2 separate regions of the Homo sapiens genome follow, and region 2 is linked to region 1. Evidence: promoter capture Hi-C in human tissues and cell types (Jung and others, 2019). All regions are on one chromosome and are shown on one strand. Each heading gives the region's core, a stretch centred on a gene start or on the middle of the fragment in contact. The rest is flanking DNA. Distances are from core to core; before and after follow the strand shown.

Region 1 (7,060 bases), core at 1,579-4,078:
GTGCCCCCAAAAAAGATACGTTTAAGTTCTAACCTGGGGAACCCATTAATGTGATCTATTTGAAAATAGGGTCTTTACAGATGTAATCAGGCGAAGATGAGGCAATTAAGATGCACCCTACCCCAATATGATTGGTGTCCTTAAAAGAAGAGAAGAGACAGACAGGGAGAGAACACTGTGTGACACCAGAGGCAGAGATTAGTGATGCCTCTAACAGCATACGAATGCCCAGGAGTGCAGACAATTGCCAGAAGCTAGGAGAAGCATGGAACAGAGTCTCTGAGACCCCATAAGGCACAAACCCTGCCAATACCTTGATTTTTGATTTTGGGCCTCCAGAATTGTGAGTGAATAAATTTCTGTTGTTTTAAACCACCCAATTCATGGGGATTTGTTACAGCAGTCTGAGCAAACTGATGTACTGGTATGTTTGAAATTCTTGTTTCTTGGTGCTGTAAAGAAATAGCACTTGAACATAAATTTAATTTCCTCAGCAAGGCCATCTTTATACTTTCGGCAGAAAGGGTACACTCGACAGCAGTTTTGCCATGAGAGTACACCAAACAAAGGAGACAAGGTCACTTATAACCTGATACATCCACCTTGCTGCTGTGTCCGGTTTTCATTGGCTGGAACAGGTCCTCACATTTTGTATTTGTTCTGATTGGCTAGCAACTTAGAACTTTTTAAAAGAGGCAAAGGCAGAGGAGAGCAAAGGAAGGAGGAAGTAACTTGTGGAATGCTGAGAAAGGTAAAAACACCTTCAAATAAGGAAGAGGAACAGGCTATGACCTAATGCTTGCTTGGACCAGTATAAGCATGCCAGGGCAAATATTTAGGCTAAATGGTGGCAGCTAGGAACATAAAGTACATTGATTTCTTTATTATGGCTAGCAGATATTTAAGACTGTTAGTACAGGTCTTTGAATACATTTTGTTTTTAAGAGAAGTTACTATTTATTTCTAATTAGACAGGGAGGAAAGTCTTTAAAGAAGAATCTCTACTTTACTTTTCACAGGTAGAATCCCAAGTCATGGCCTATAGGCGCATAGGTCAAGGTCATATGAGAGCATAAGGGTCTGAGACAGTAAATTGGAGCTGGGCCGGAAGGACCTAGAATGTGGCCCTAAGTAGGGGTTTAGACTTTACCATTCAGGCAACGTGGAGCCACAGAGGAGATATTAAATTGCCAAGGTACACAGTTCTATCTCGGTTTTATTTTATTTATGTATGTATTTATTTATTTATTTAGAGCCAGCGTCTCACTCTGTTACCCAGGCTGGAGTGCAGTAGCGCAATCCTGGCTCACTGCACTCTTTTTTTTTTTTTTTTTTTGAGTCGGAGTCTGGCTCTGTTGCCCAGGCTGGAGTGCAGTGGCGCGATCTTGGCTCACTGCAAGCTCCGCCTCCCGGGTTCATGCCATTCTCCTGCCTCAGCCTCCCGAGTAGCTGGGACTACAGGCGCCCGCCACTATGCCCGGCTACTTTTTTTTTGTATTTTTTTAGTAGAGAGAGGGTTAGCCAGGATGGACTCGATCTCCTGACCTCGTGATCCGCCTGCCTCGGCCTCCCAAAGTGCTGGGATTACAGGCGTGAGCCACCGCGCCCGGCCTGCACTCTTGAATTAATGGGCTCAAGCAATCCTCCCTCCTCAGCCTTCTGAGTAGCTGGAACAGGCACGCAACACCACATCCTGCTAATTTTTTTTTATTTTTTTAAGAGATGGGGGTTTCATCTTGTTACCCAGGCTGGTCTCAGACTCTTGTTTTCATGCTATCCTCCTGCCTCAGTCTACCAAAGTGTTGGGTTTACAGGCATAAGCCAACACACCGGGCCCCTACCTTGGTTTAAGAGACGAGTATCAGAGAAATAGACTACACATGAGAAAGACTCGTTTGACTTGTGGATGTGTCTGAAATTCATTTGCTTTTTCCTTTAAAACCGATTCATTTCCTTCAAAACCGATTCATTTCCTTCCACAAACAGTTATCAGGATTTGACATACACGAGTTTGTCATTAATGACCATGGGTTATTTTGTGCTTACTAAATCAGGCCCTGTTTTAGACATAATCTGCTAATCTTATTAATCCTCACAACTGCCCCACAAAATACACATGCGACCCTCTCCATAAAAGGGATAAGGAAGCCAGGTGCGGTGGCTCATGCCTGTAATCCTAGCAGTCTTGGGAGACTGAGACGGGCAGATCACTTGAGATCAGGAGTTTGAGACCAGACTGGTCAACATGGTGAAACCCCCGTCTCTACTAAAAATACAAAAATTAGCCGGGCGTGGTGGTGGCACCTGTAACCCAGCTACTCGGGGAGCTGAGGCAGGAGAATCGCTTGAACCTGGGAGGCAGAGGTTGTAGTGAGCCGAAATCACGCCACTGCACTCCAGCCTGGGTGACAGAGTGAAACTCCATCTCAAAAAAAAAAAAAAAAAAAAAAGGGTGGGGGATAAGGAAACATTCAGGAACGACGTGACATGACTTGTGCTTAGGGAAACTATTAGGGTTGAAAGTAAGGCCACCTTGGGTCCTAATGGCTGTAAGGCATCAGACAAAATACGTCAACTATGTCAGCCTACATTTTCTCATCTTTCAAACTGCCATAACAGCAGCCACCTCTTCGGCCGGCCAGGCCTGGCCCAGCTGGATTAAATGAATGAAGCGCAGCAAGGGCTGGGCGTAGGTAAACTGTGCAGTCATCCTCTTCCACGACCTCCGCTGAGCCCACGCCGCTCCGCCCGCCGGCCGCCAGGGATCGCTGTGACGTGGCTCGGGCCCAGCACGCGGCCGCTCTGGCCCAGGGAAGTCCCTGTCCTTACCTTCAGCAGGAGCCGGTTCCCTGTGTGTGTGTCCGCTCGCCCTCTGCTCCGTCCTGCGGCTGCCCACTGCCCTCCTACGGTCCACCATGGCCCTGCTGCACTCCGGCCGCGTCCTCCCCGGGATCGCCGCCGCCTTCCACCCGGGCCTCGCCGCCGCGGCCTCTGCCAGAGCCAGGTAAGCCAAGGGAAACGGAGATGGAGCCAGGGCGATGGCCCTGCCCCGCCGAGCTGCGAGCACCCCAGGACATTCACCCCTCCCGGCCCCCAAATACACACTGTCACTCACACGCACACACACACACTTTTCTGCCACCCCCTCGGCTTTCCCTTACTGGGGACTGAGGATTGAGCGTCCGTGCCCCACAGTGATCCTCAGGATCCCACATCCCTCTGGTCCCCGCACTGGGCCCTGCAGGAAGGCGTGCAACGCAATCCCTAGGGAAAGGAAGTGTGGCCCTCGGCGGTTGCCGGACTCCCATTCAGTGGGAGGGGTGCGGATAGTACTGGGGCAGCGGCGCCGGGTAACGACCGTGCCCTTGATAGGGTGCCCTGGGGGCGGCGGGCGCACCTGTCCTGGCCCCCGGCCCGCCCGAGTCGGTGGGCCGGCGGCGGCTGGCTGCCGCGTGTGTGCCCTGGGCGGGAAGAGCGCGAGAGGAAGGTTTCCGGGGCGCCGGCATTCGGGCCTCGCTTTCCTTCCCGCACCTGCGACCTTGGCGTGCGGCATTCTCCTGACCTTGCGACCCCCCGAGGTCCCTGTGACCCCGGGGCCCGTTTGGCCTTTGCTTGGGAAAGGGTCGAGGTGTAGTGTGTCTCTTTTTTTGTTTTGTTTTGTTTTTTCCTTATTGCCCCTAAGGAGGTCCGGTTGCAGGGAGGCTATCAATCTTCCTCTCCATCTCCCTGTGCTCTTTCATTCAGTAAATATTTCGTAACTGCAGTTTCTCAGAGCCAGGCTCTGGACCAGATGCCAACGATACAACTGTGAACAAGGCGAGGGAAGGACAATGACAAATGGTCATTGCTCAAAAAATGACAAACGTAATTTCGTACTGTGGCGTGTATAATAGTATGGAGGGAAATTTCAGAGCTTGAAACGAGCTCTAGTAATTCATTCCCAGTGGAGACCGGAGCCAGAAGATTAATTCAACTCAAGAAGCCGATTTGGAGCACTCTCCTTAAGCACTACCTTAATAAGGAACTGAGTTTTAAAACCACCCCCAAGCAGGTATTAACTGCAAGGAGCAAAGCGTAGCTTGGCCTTTCGTTTGAATGTATGCTCTGTGTCTTTCAGCCAGCAGAACTATCTGTCCTTTCCAAGGCCCCACAGCCTTGGCAGTACAGTTTTGCCCAGGCTTCGCACTTTTTTCTCTTCCTGACTTGGCTCCTTCCTGGCCCACTGTCAACGTGTGCTCTTTAAGTCTGCCTACCTAGTGGGCCAGAGCCAGGAGGAGTTATTTATGCAACAAATTTGGAAAACCAAAGGAGTGCTTAAAATTTCCGTCAAGAGAAAGTATGTTTCCCTATTGCAGTAATCTTAAAATAATACCTTGTTTTATGGATTTGGCTAGATCACCTGAAGCTCTAGTGCTTGGTGAAAATCCCTTGGGGTCAGGGTTAGTCATTCTTTCAGTTTGAGAGTCTGACTCATTTTTCTTTTCTGTATTTTTCTTACTAGAATGTAAGTTCCATGAGAGCGGAGACTTTACCTACTTTATATTCACTGTTACATCTCAGCACTATTAACAGTTGCTGGCATGTCTCTTATATTGGATATTTTTATTTTAAGCCCTGATTTTTCACGTAATGCAACGGAAACAAATACAGTATGACATTTTAATGTTGTATCTTAGATCAAAATCTGAACATAGGCTGGTCCAAGTGTAATGGTGTTTACAACTAATTGATCATAACCAGTTACAGATTTTATTGTTCCTTCTCTCGACTAATCTTACACAGGGGAACCACAGTGCTGCAAAATATGTACCAAAAAAAATTCCCTTTTTTTTTTTCTTTAAATACAGGGTCTCACTGTGTTGCCCAGGCTGGAGTGCAGTGGCACAATCATGGCTCACTGCAGCCTGACCTTCCAGGCTCAAGTGGTCCTCCTGCTTCAGCCTCCCAAGTAGCTGGGACTGCAGGCATACACCACCACACCCAGCTAATTTTTTATTTTTTGTAGAGACAGAGTCTCCCTGTGTTGGTCTCAGACTCCTCCCACATCAGCCCCGCAAAGCGCTGGGATTATAGGCTAAGCAACCCCACCTGACCAGAAAATAAATTCTTGAAATAGTTGAGCACCTAATGTTGAGGAATTACTCTTCAGATTTAAATAATGATACCTGATTAGGTGACAGAATCAGATGCCATATTTGGCATGAAGGTTAACTCTTCAGGCAAGATCAGACTTCCCTCCTTACACTGTGGAAGTGATCTTTACCTAGCTCCAAATGGTAAAAGTGGAAAATACTTAAACTGAATTCATCGACATTTCTATTTAAATGGCTCATTCTAATACAATAAAACCTTGTCTGTTGTTATTCTGAAGAACTGAGGATTTATCCAATGGCATACTTGGAACTCTTTGTAAATATGTGGAACTCTTTGTAAGTTCAAGTGTATCATTTAGCTAAACACTGCGAATAAAACTTTCTCTTGTTGACTTGTACTGTAAATGTATAGTGACATGAGATCAGACATAGTTGCAGTTCAATGAAGAAAAAAAAAGATGCTAATGTATTTTGATTTATAATGATTTGCTTTTAATTATTTAATTCTGATTATTTACTTTTTGGTGAAATAACTGAGCAGGTCTCGTGAGACTTTAAAAATGCAGTGTGCAACTGTGGTACCATAACCATTGGTTAAAAGATCACAGACCAGGCACAGTAGCTCACACCTGTAATTCTAGCACTTTGGGAGGCTGAGGCAGGTGGATTGCTTGAGCTCGGGAGTTCTAGACCAGCTGGGCAACATGGCAAGACCCCGTCTCTACATAAAATACAAAAATTAGCCGGGCATGGTGATGTGCACCTGGAGTCCCAGCTACTTGGGAGGCTGAGGTGGGAGGGTCGCTCGAGCCTGATCGCTTGAGAGGTGAAGAGTTGCAGTGAGCCCGCTGATCACGCCGCTGCACTCCAGCCTGAGCAACAAAGCAAGACTGTGTCTCAAAAAAAAAAGATCACAGCTGTGCTATTGTCTCTGCCATTTTTAGCTCTGTGATTGTGGGCAAGCTAATTAACTTCCCTTCTGATTTTAAAGTAAGAAGAATGTGAGGAAAAGCAGTTTAAAAACTGTAAAACTTTAAGTAGGCTTAAGCTCCAGGGAAATTACAATGCGTTTCGATTGGAAAGGCTTACCTGAATACTTGGTACCTAACCTCTCTTGGATGACCAGTCAATATTGCTCAATGTTTGAGGCTTTGTGCCTGTATCCAAAATGTACTGATAGAAATCACTTTCTAGGTCACAGGTTATCAGCATGAGTTTTGCCCCTAGAACACTCCTATTTTCATCTACTCGATTCCTTTAAAAACATCAGAGTTCTTACAATATGTGTGTAGTCTTTACCATTTTAAGAAATGGAATAATGAAAGGCATGGAGGAGTTGAAAGATGGTTACTAATGTGGGGCTAATCAAATTGAGTATTCCCTCTAGGCCAGGTGCCGTGGCTCACACCTGTAATCTCAGCACTTTGGGATGCTAAGGTAGGAGGATCACTTGAGCTCAAGAGTTGGAGACCAACCTGGGCAATATGGCACAACCCCATCTCTACAAAAAACTAGCCAGGCACGGTGGCACACACCCATAGTCCCAGCTACTCGGGGAGGATCACTTGAGCCCGGGAGGTAGAGGCTGCAGTGAGCCGTGGTCACGCCACTGCATTCTAGCCTGGGTGACAGAGTGAGACCCTGTCTCAAAAAAAAAAATTGTATCCCTCTAGGAGGGGAACAACAGACACTGGAGCCTACCTGAGGGTAGAGAATGGGAAGAGGGAGAGAATCAGAAAAAATAACTGTCAGGTACTATGCTTATTACCCAGATGATGAAATTATCTGTACACCAAACCCCCAGGACATGCACATGTACCCGTGAACCTGAAATAAAAGTTAAAAAAACCTCCCATGCCTCTGCCCTTCAGATGCTAGTAGCACCTGCTTTCCCCCAGAGTTTCAACAAACAGAAATGTCTCCATAAATTGTCAGTGTTCCCTAGCTAGGCAACCCCTTCCTCTCTC
Region 2 (7,060 bases), core at 3,099-5,598, 590 kb before region 1:
TCCAGTCCTTATGCACATAGGCATAACTTCTCCCTAAGCAATATCTAATGCTTGCAGTAGAACTATAAATTGCAGCTAATGGGAGAAAATGCAACTCCTTCATTCAGAATTTCTGAAAATATTTGCCTGCGATGTTTTGTGCAACAGAGATTGCACTAAAAAAAAAAAAAAAAAAAAAAAAAAAAAAGACAGTATTTATTCTGGGGTGGCTTCATTTGGAAAGCCAGATTAGGGAGGGTAATCAAATGCATTTCACTTTTACCTAGTAAATAATTTAAATGGTCCCTGTGGTTATTCATTAAAACTTTTATGGTATGTTCATCAATTACCAAACAGCTTGAACAAAGCAGAGGTAAATTAACTTTCTGAAATCCACATGGCTTAGCTTGCCAAAAGGAGTGTATACACTCACAGCATTTTCATTGGTTTAAAGTTCATCCAAAATACTATTAGCTTGGAGTCCAATTTTGAACTGTCAAGGGGAATATATACAATGGTAATTTCAGATCATTATCATGGCATTCCAATGCAAATGGCCACAATTTAATTCATTATCACTAACATTACATCTTTATTTTGCTACCAACTGGTGACTGACATTTCGAGGGCTACAAGAAGCAAATGCTAATTAGACCACGGTATACTCTTAGCCTTTTTTCTTTCATTGTATTTTTCCATCTTCAGGAAAACATGCAGGAGGCTACTTCTGACCAGCTGCTGGCCCTTGACCCTCCTCTCCTGCCCTGGCAAGGCTGTCATCCCTGGGATAAAATGAAGCTTCTGTGGATTTCCACTTCCAAGTATTGTGTTTCTGAAATAGAGCCTATGTAATGAAATGACCTCTTCTTTAAGCCAGCCACCAACCTAATTTAGGAAATCTAGAGCAATCTCCAGGGCGACAGATTATAGGCATTAACATGCAAACAAACTGCCTTAAAAGTTCAAATTTGCATTTAGACTGGACAAAGGGGAAAGAAATGACTTTCTATGCTGTTCCTTGCATCATCATGGTTTCAAAAATTATAAATCTCTGAAATGGTGCCAGAAGGGAACTTCCTTAGCTTCTCTCATTCATACTTAACTTGGACTTCATTCATCTCTGAAAGCATGCCTTTTCACTCTCAATGTGAGATAAGAAAGAGTTGTAAACTCTCCCGCAGCTTCAGATGAAAGCAATTAGTAGAACAAAATTGAAGATCGCATCTTGAGTGTACAGACTCAGAGAAAAGATATAAAATATAGATTTTTTCACTTCCCTGATATGACACAATAATTTTACCTTTAAGACAATGTCTCTCAAACAAACTGTCCTACCAAGAAGACACATGCACTCACGTGTTCATCACAGCACTATTCCCAACAGCAAGGACATGGGGTCAACCTAGGTGCTCATCAGTGGTGGATTGGATAAAGAAAATATTGTACATATGCATCATGGGATACTGTGCAGCCATAAAAAGGAACAAAATCATGTCCTTGGCAGCAACATGGGTCCAACTGGAGGTCACTGTCCTAAGCAAATTAATGCGGGAACAGAACACCAAATACCACATGTTTTCATTTATAAATGGGAGCTAAACACTGGGTACTCATGGACATGAAGAAGGTAACAATAGCAACTGGGGACTGCTAAAGAGAGGAGGGAGGAAGGGAGAGGGCAAGAGCTGAAAAACTAACTTTTGGGTACTACGCTCAGTACCTGAGTGATGGGATCATTCATATTCCAAACTTCAGCATCACACAATATACTCAGGTAACAAACCTGTACATGTCCCCCTAGATTCTAAAATGAAAGCTGGAAAAAAAAAAGAGACAATGTTTCTCTTCAGAAGCTCCACGAAAATGTTATTTATTAAGTAATTACGTCGGTGTAATAATAATAATTATGGTAGGCATTCAATAATTATGTGTCAGGTACCTAGTAATTGACTTTGCATATTTTAATCTTTAAGACAATCCTGCAAGATGTGAATTTGGTTACCAACAAGGAAGATGAGCCCTAGAGAGTCAGTGTCCAGTACAAACAGTAATAGTTACTCCAGTTACCCAGGATGATGGTGACGTAATAGTTACCCAGTGTCCAGTACAAACAATAATGGTAACTCCAGAGGAAAAATCTCTTCCAGCATATTTTGATCTCTAAGGGCCTTAATTCAAAATCTTATTATACAAAGGAGCCATGTTTTGGGGTAAAGTTTCCTGTGCTTCTTCAGATCCAGAAATCAAAAATTTACCACACATAAAATTAAATATCTAGGAATTAACTTAACCAAAGAAGTTTCTATAATGAAAACTATAAAACATTGATGAAAAAAATTAAAGAGGACACCAAAAAAATTAAAAGATATTCCATGTTAATGGGTTGGAAGAGTCAATATTGTTAAAATGTTCATATTACCCAAAACAATCTACAGATTCAGTGCAATCCCTATCAAAATACCAATGATGTTCTTCACAGAAATAGAAAAAAACTATCCCAAAATTTATATAGAATCACAAAAGACCCAGAGGAGCCAAAACTATCCTAAGCAAAAAGAACAAAGCTGAAGGAATCACATTACCTGACTTCAAATGATACTACAGAGCTATAGTAACCAAAATAGCATGGTCCTGGCATAAAAACAGACACATAGAGCAATAAAACAGAATAGAAAACCCAGAAACAAATCCACACACCTACATTGAACGCATTTTTGACAGAGGTGCCAAAAACATACACTGGGAAAAAGACAGTCTCTTCAATAAATGGTGCTGGGAAAACTGGATATTCATATGCAGAAGAGTGAAATTAGACTCCCAGCCCTCACCATATACAAACATCAAGTCAAAATGGATTGAAGAGTTAATTCTAAGACCTCAAACCATGAAACTACTGAGAGAAAATATTGTGGAAAATCTCCAGGGCGTTGCTCTGGGCAAAAATTTCCTGAGCAACACTCTACAAGACAACCAAAGCAAAAATGGACAAGTGGGATCGCATCAAGTTAAAAAGCTTCTGCACAGCAGGGGATAAAACCAACAAAGTGAAGAGACAACCCACAGAATGGAAAAAAATGTTTTCAAACCACCCATCTGACAAGGGATTAATAACCAGAATATATAAGGAGCTCAAACAACTCTGTAGGGAAAAAATGTAATAATCCAATAAAAAAATGGGCAACAAATTTGAGTAGACATTTCTCAAAAGAAGACATACAAGTGGCAAACAGGCATTTGAAAAAGTGTTCAACATCGTTGATCGTCAGATGATGATCAGTATACTATTCAGTGTATCCAAAAGACAGACAATAACAAATTCTGTCAAGAATGTGGAGAAAAGACAACCCCTGTACATTGTTGGTGGGGGTGTAAATTAGTACAACCACTATGGAGACCAGTTTGGAGATTCCTCAAAAAACTAAAAATTGAGCTACCATATGATCCAGCAATCCCATTGCTGAGTATATGCCCAAAAGAAAGGAAGTAAGTTGCCGGGCGCGATGGCTCAGCCTGTAATCCCAGCACTTTGGGAGGCCGAGGCAGGCGGATCACGAGGTCAGGAGATTGGGACCATCCTGGTTAACATAATGAAACTCCGTCTCTACTAAAAATACAAAAGAATTAGCCCGGGCGTGGCGGTGGGCGCCTGTAGTCCCAGCTACTCGAGAGGCTGAGGCACGAGAATGGCGCGAACCTGGGAGGCGGAGCTTGCAGTGAGCAGAGATCGCGCCACTGCACTCCAGCCTGTGAGACAGAGAGAGACTCCGTCTCAAATAAATAAATAAAATAAAATAAAATAAAATAAACAGTGTAATTTGATTGTTCGTAACTCAAAGGATAAATGCTTGAGGGAATGGGTATCCCATTCTCTATGATGCGCTTATTTTACATGGCATGCCTGTATCAAAACATCTCATGTATCCCATAGATCTATATGCCTACTATGTACCCACAAAATTTTTTTAAAAATTTACCTGTCCCATGGTAGATACTCAGTAAATACGTGTTGAATGTAGAATGAATTTTAAAAAAAAAAACTGTTTTAGTATTACTATAACAAAAAGTAGACAGGGTAATAGATGACAAGCAGAAAAAAATGAATGAATGAATTTGAAATGCTTTTCTCTGTACTGAAATCCAGCTGGGCTAGAAAGCATTTATCCTTTAACATGATTGATGTATATATAATCTAACTGAAATGTCAGGTTTAAAGCACAGTTACAATTAGGTAGGTATATCTTACTTAGATATATGCTTTAAGAAGTTGGTATGCGGAAAGTTATTGCTGTACTTATAAAACCTAACACTTGAGGCACCCCTCATAGTATGAACTTGGGCCTCCTAAAGGAAACAATTCTCAATGCTAACAACTTTCTAAAACTAATTTTCCTCATCCATCATCCAATCATTAATAAATCTCACATTAATAATTCTGTACATTTCAGAATGAGAGGAAAGGGAAGCCTCAAGCGCCACCCGTGCCATTGCTCCCATACTTCTAAAAAGTAACTGTCTAGCTGAAAAAGTTTGTGCCCTGGGGCACGAGACTAATAGGAATTTCAAGACCCATTTTCTGTTAGCAACTTAATCTTTCTTTGTCCCCCATCTCAGCCAGCAAATACAATTTCATAATAACACAACTCATCTCTGTGTTTTTGAACTTGGCTTTGGATTGGGGATCATTGTGTCTTTGCCTTTAGATGTCTCACTCTGATGTATTCTATTTCAAAGGGAGAGATAAAACCCAAAGTTCATTCTCACAATGGGACATCCTTTAAAGCCAAAGAGAAATGTTGGTCCTCTTTGTGGCACACAGCAGCCCAGATCCACTTTGAGATTCTCTCTTGAAAGTCTCTGGGCAAGTGCAAAACGGTTTCCAGTGATTTATTTTGTGCCACTATCGGAATGGAATTGCTGTAGCTGTCTCCATGGCACAACTGGGCAGATTGAAGTTGTGGGAGTGAAGTAGGGTGAAGACCTCAGGGAAACAGGTTTCCTCATTGCCTCTTCCTAATTACTAGCCATGCAGCTGAGCTCTTCAGCACTAATGGCTCCACTGGGTATAGATAGCATCTACATATACCTTTGGAAGTCTAAATTTGGGCAAGAGGAATAAGGGATTTATTCAAACCCATAGTCATTTTCTCTCTCTCTCCCGCCACCCCTTCTCTCTCTCTGTCTCAACTCTAATTATACAAAAAAGTTTTTTGTCTATTTCTCCATTAGACATAACACATTTCACTTTAAAACTGTTTTTCTGTTGGTCTTTTAATTTACCATTCTTAAATTTCCCATAATCTTGATGAAATCTCTTCCTAAATATATTTCCTCCACCTTCGACTTCTTCTAATAGTCTTTGATTTCCAAAGGGATGCATAACTTCTTATTTATCTTTGTATCCCCAGTCCCTGAAAGAATGTCTAGCATGTATTATTCACCCAATAACATGTTAGTTCAGTGAATGACTGAAGGAATGACTCACCAAAATTTTAATCATTCACTCTTCTCTGAATCCTTCTCCTTTCTTTAAACATGCAGACAGCTGTCCTATCTCGCCAAAATGTTTACTCTCATTATATTCTGTACTTCCTGAAATAATTGATGTTTTGAAAGCACAAGACGGCATATCCTCTTCTGCCCTCTTCCCTAGTGAGAGCAATTTTATAACTAAAGAATTAGAGGCCAGGCGCGGTGGCTCATGCCTGTAATCCCAGCACTTTGGGAGGCCAAGGGGGGTGGATTACTTGAGGTCAGGAGATCTAGGCCAGCCTGGCCAACATTGTGAAACCCCTTCTCTACAAAAATACAAAAATTAACCAGGCATGGTGGCGTTCACCTGTAATCCCAGCTACTTGGGAGGCTGAGACAGGAGAATCGCTTGGAGACAGGAGAATCGCTTGAACCCAGGAGGCGGAGGTTGCAGTGAGCCAAGATCATGCCACTGCACTCCAGCCTGTGCGACAGAGCAAGGTTCTCTCTCAAAAAAGAAAACAAACAAAAATAAACAAACAAACAAAAAACTAGAGCAAGTGACCAGCCTTTAAAAGATAAGGAGTTTATCTCCACAGAAGCTAAAGTACAGGGGCTGAGAGCCTCCTCTTCACACCTACTCCCGCCTTTCTTGGATGACATGTCGTATCAACATCCTGATGCTGCCATGGCTTCCACTGGTAGAATGACAACTCAGATTTTAATGACAGCAATGGTATAATTGAGCTTAAGTAAAGTCTTGGATCACTGTTGTGCTAATGTTTTATCGACTTAATTTGCAAAATATTTTCTGCCTGCCAAACCTGCTGGGCATCATGCTAACTACAGGATGTTTTTAAAAAATCATATAGCAATCCAATACCCAATAAACTGATATACCAGAAAGAATATAAAGTATGTGAATGGGAATGAACCTCCATGCTTTGTGGTTGAAAATGATGCATCTCCTAAAAGGAGTTCAAAATACAGTATTACTGGGAGTTTAGGGGAGAGAGGTTAAGACTACCTGGGTGGGTCACAGAAAGCTTTAAAAAGGAGGTAGCATTTAACACAGCCTTGAAGGAATGAATTAATATACAAACACTTTCCAGTGGGATACTCAACAAAGCAAAAAGCCCTGATTTGTTGTGTTTGACACTTTCCATGTTGTCAATACTCCTACCATGGCTAGCAATTGGCTCTCAAGATTCCTGAAAACTTAACAGTTAGCTCTCATAAGCCATCTGTAGTACACCGCTGTTTGTTAAACTTTACTTGGGCAGCCTCTCTTATGAATTTCCATATTGTACATGGATTGAAAAGATCCGCTCTCCTCACATGAGGAACATATTGTTGCAATGAAGGAAAAGTGGTTTGGGGAAGAGAACTAAATAGACTGAAGTGTTTTTAGCTGACCCCAGTTCAAAGAGTCATGATTATACCCAGGAAAATTGCCCTCTGTCTCTGAGTGTCTCTAGGTCTCAGCAATGTGAAGAGACACTGGCATCTTGACTGAATCAGAGTATTTCATTAAAAATTTGATCATATGTCCCTATCTTCCAAAATCTAAGAACTCTATCTATAATACTATAGATTTAGGAATACAAATCTA

Evidence for each region. Contacts are between HindIII fragments. The study calls those that stand out against the background at their distance.
Region 2: a contact is called between a fragment that was not itself captured here and the fragment with the promoter of GOT2 in region 1, in 2 of the 25 tissues and cell types used here (heart left ventricle and mesendoderm cells).

The regions. Positions count from the first base shown.
Region 1 is chr16:58,730,084-58,737,143 of GRCh38, reverse strand. It overlaps GOT2 (glutamic-oxaloacetic transaminase 2), which reads left to right and starts at 2,828. Exons shown (of 10, transcript NM_002080.4): 1 at 2,828-3,004. The coding sequence starts at 2,916. RefSeq lists enhancers at 2,704-2,783, 2,483-3,101 and silencers at 3,224-3,313, 3,414-3,503. The HindIII fragment of the contact is 7,339 bases long and covers 2,674-7,060 here.
Region 2 is chr16:59,323,083-59,330,142 of GRCh38, reverse strand. No RefSeq gene overlaps it. Among named protein-coding and RNA genes, the nearest start is that of LINC02141, 530 kb to the left of the region's middle. The HindIII fragment of the contact is 4,925 bases long and covers 1,886-6,810 here.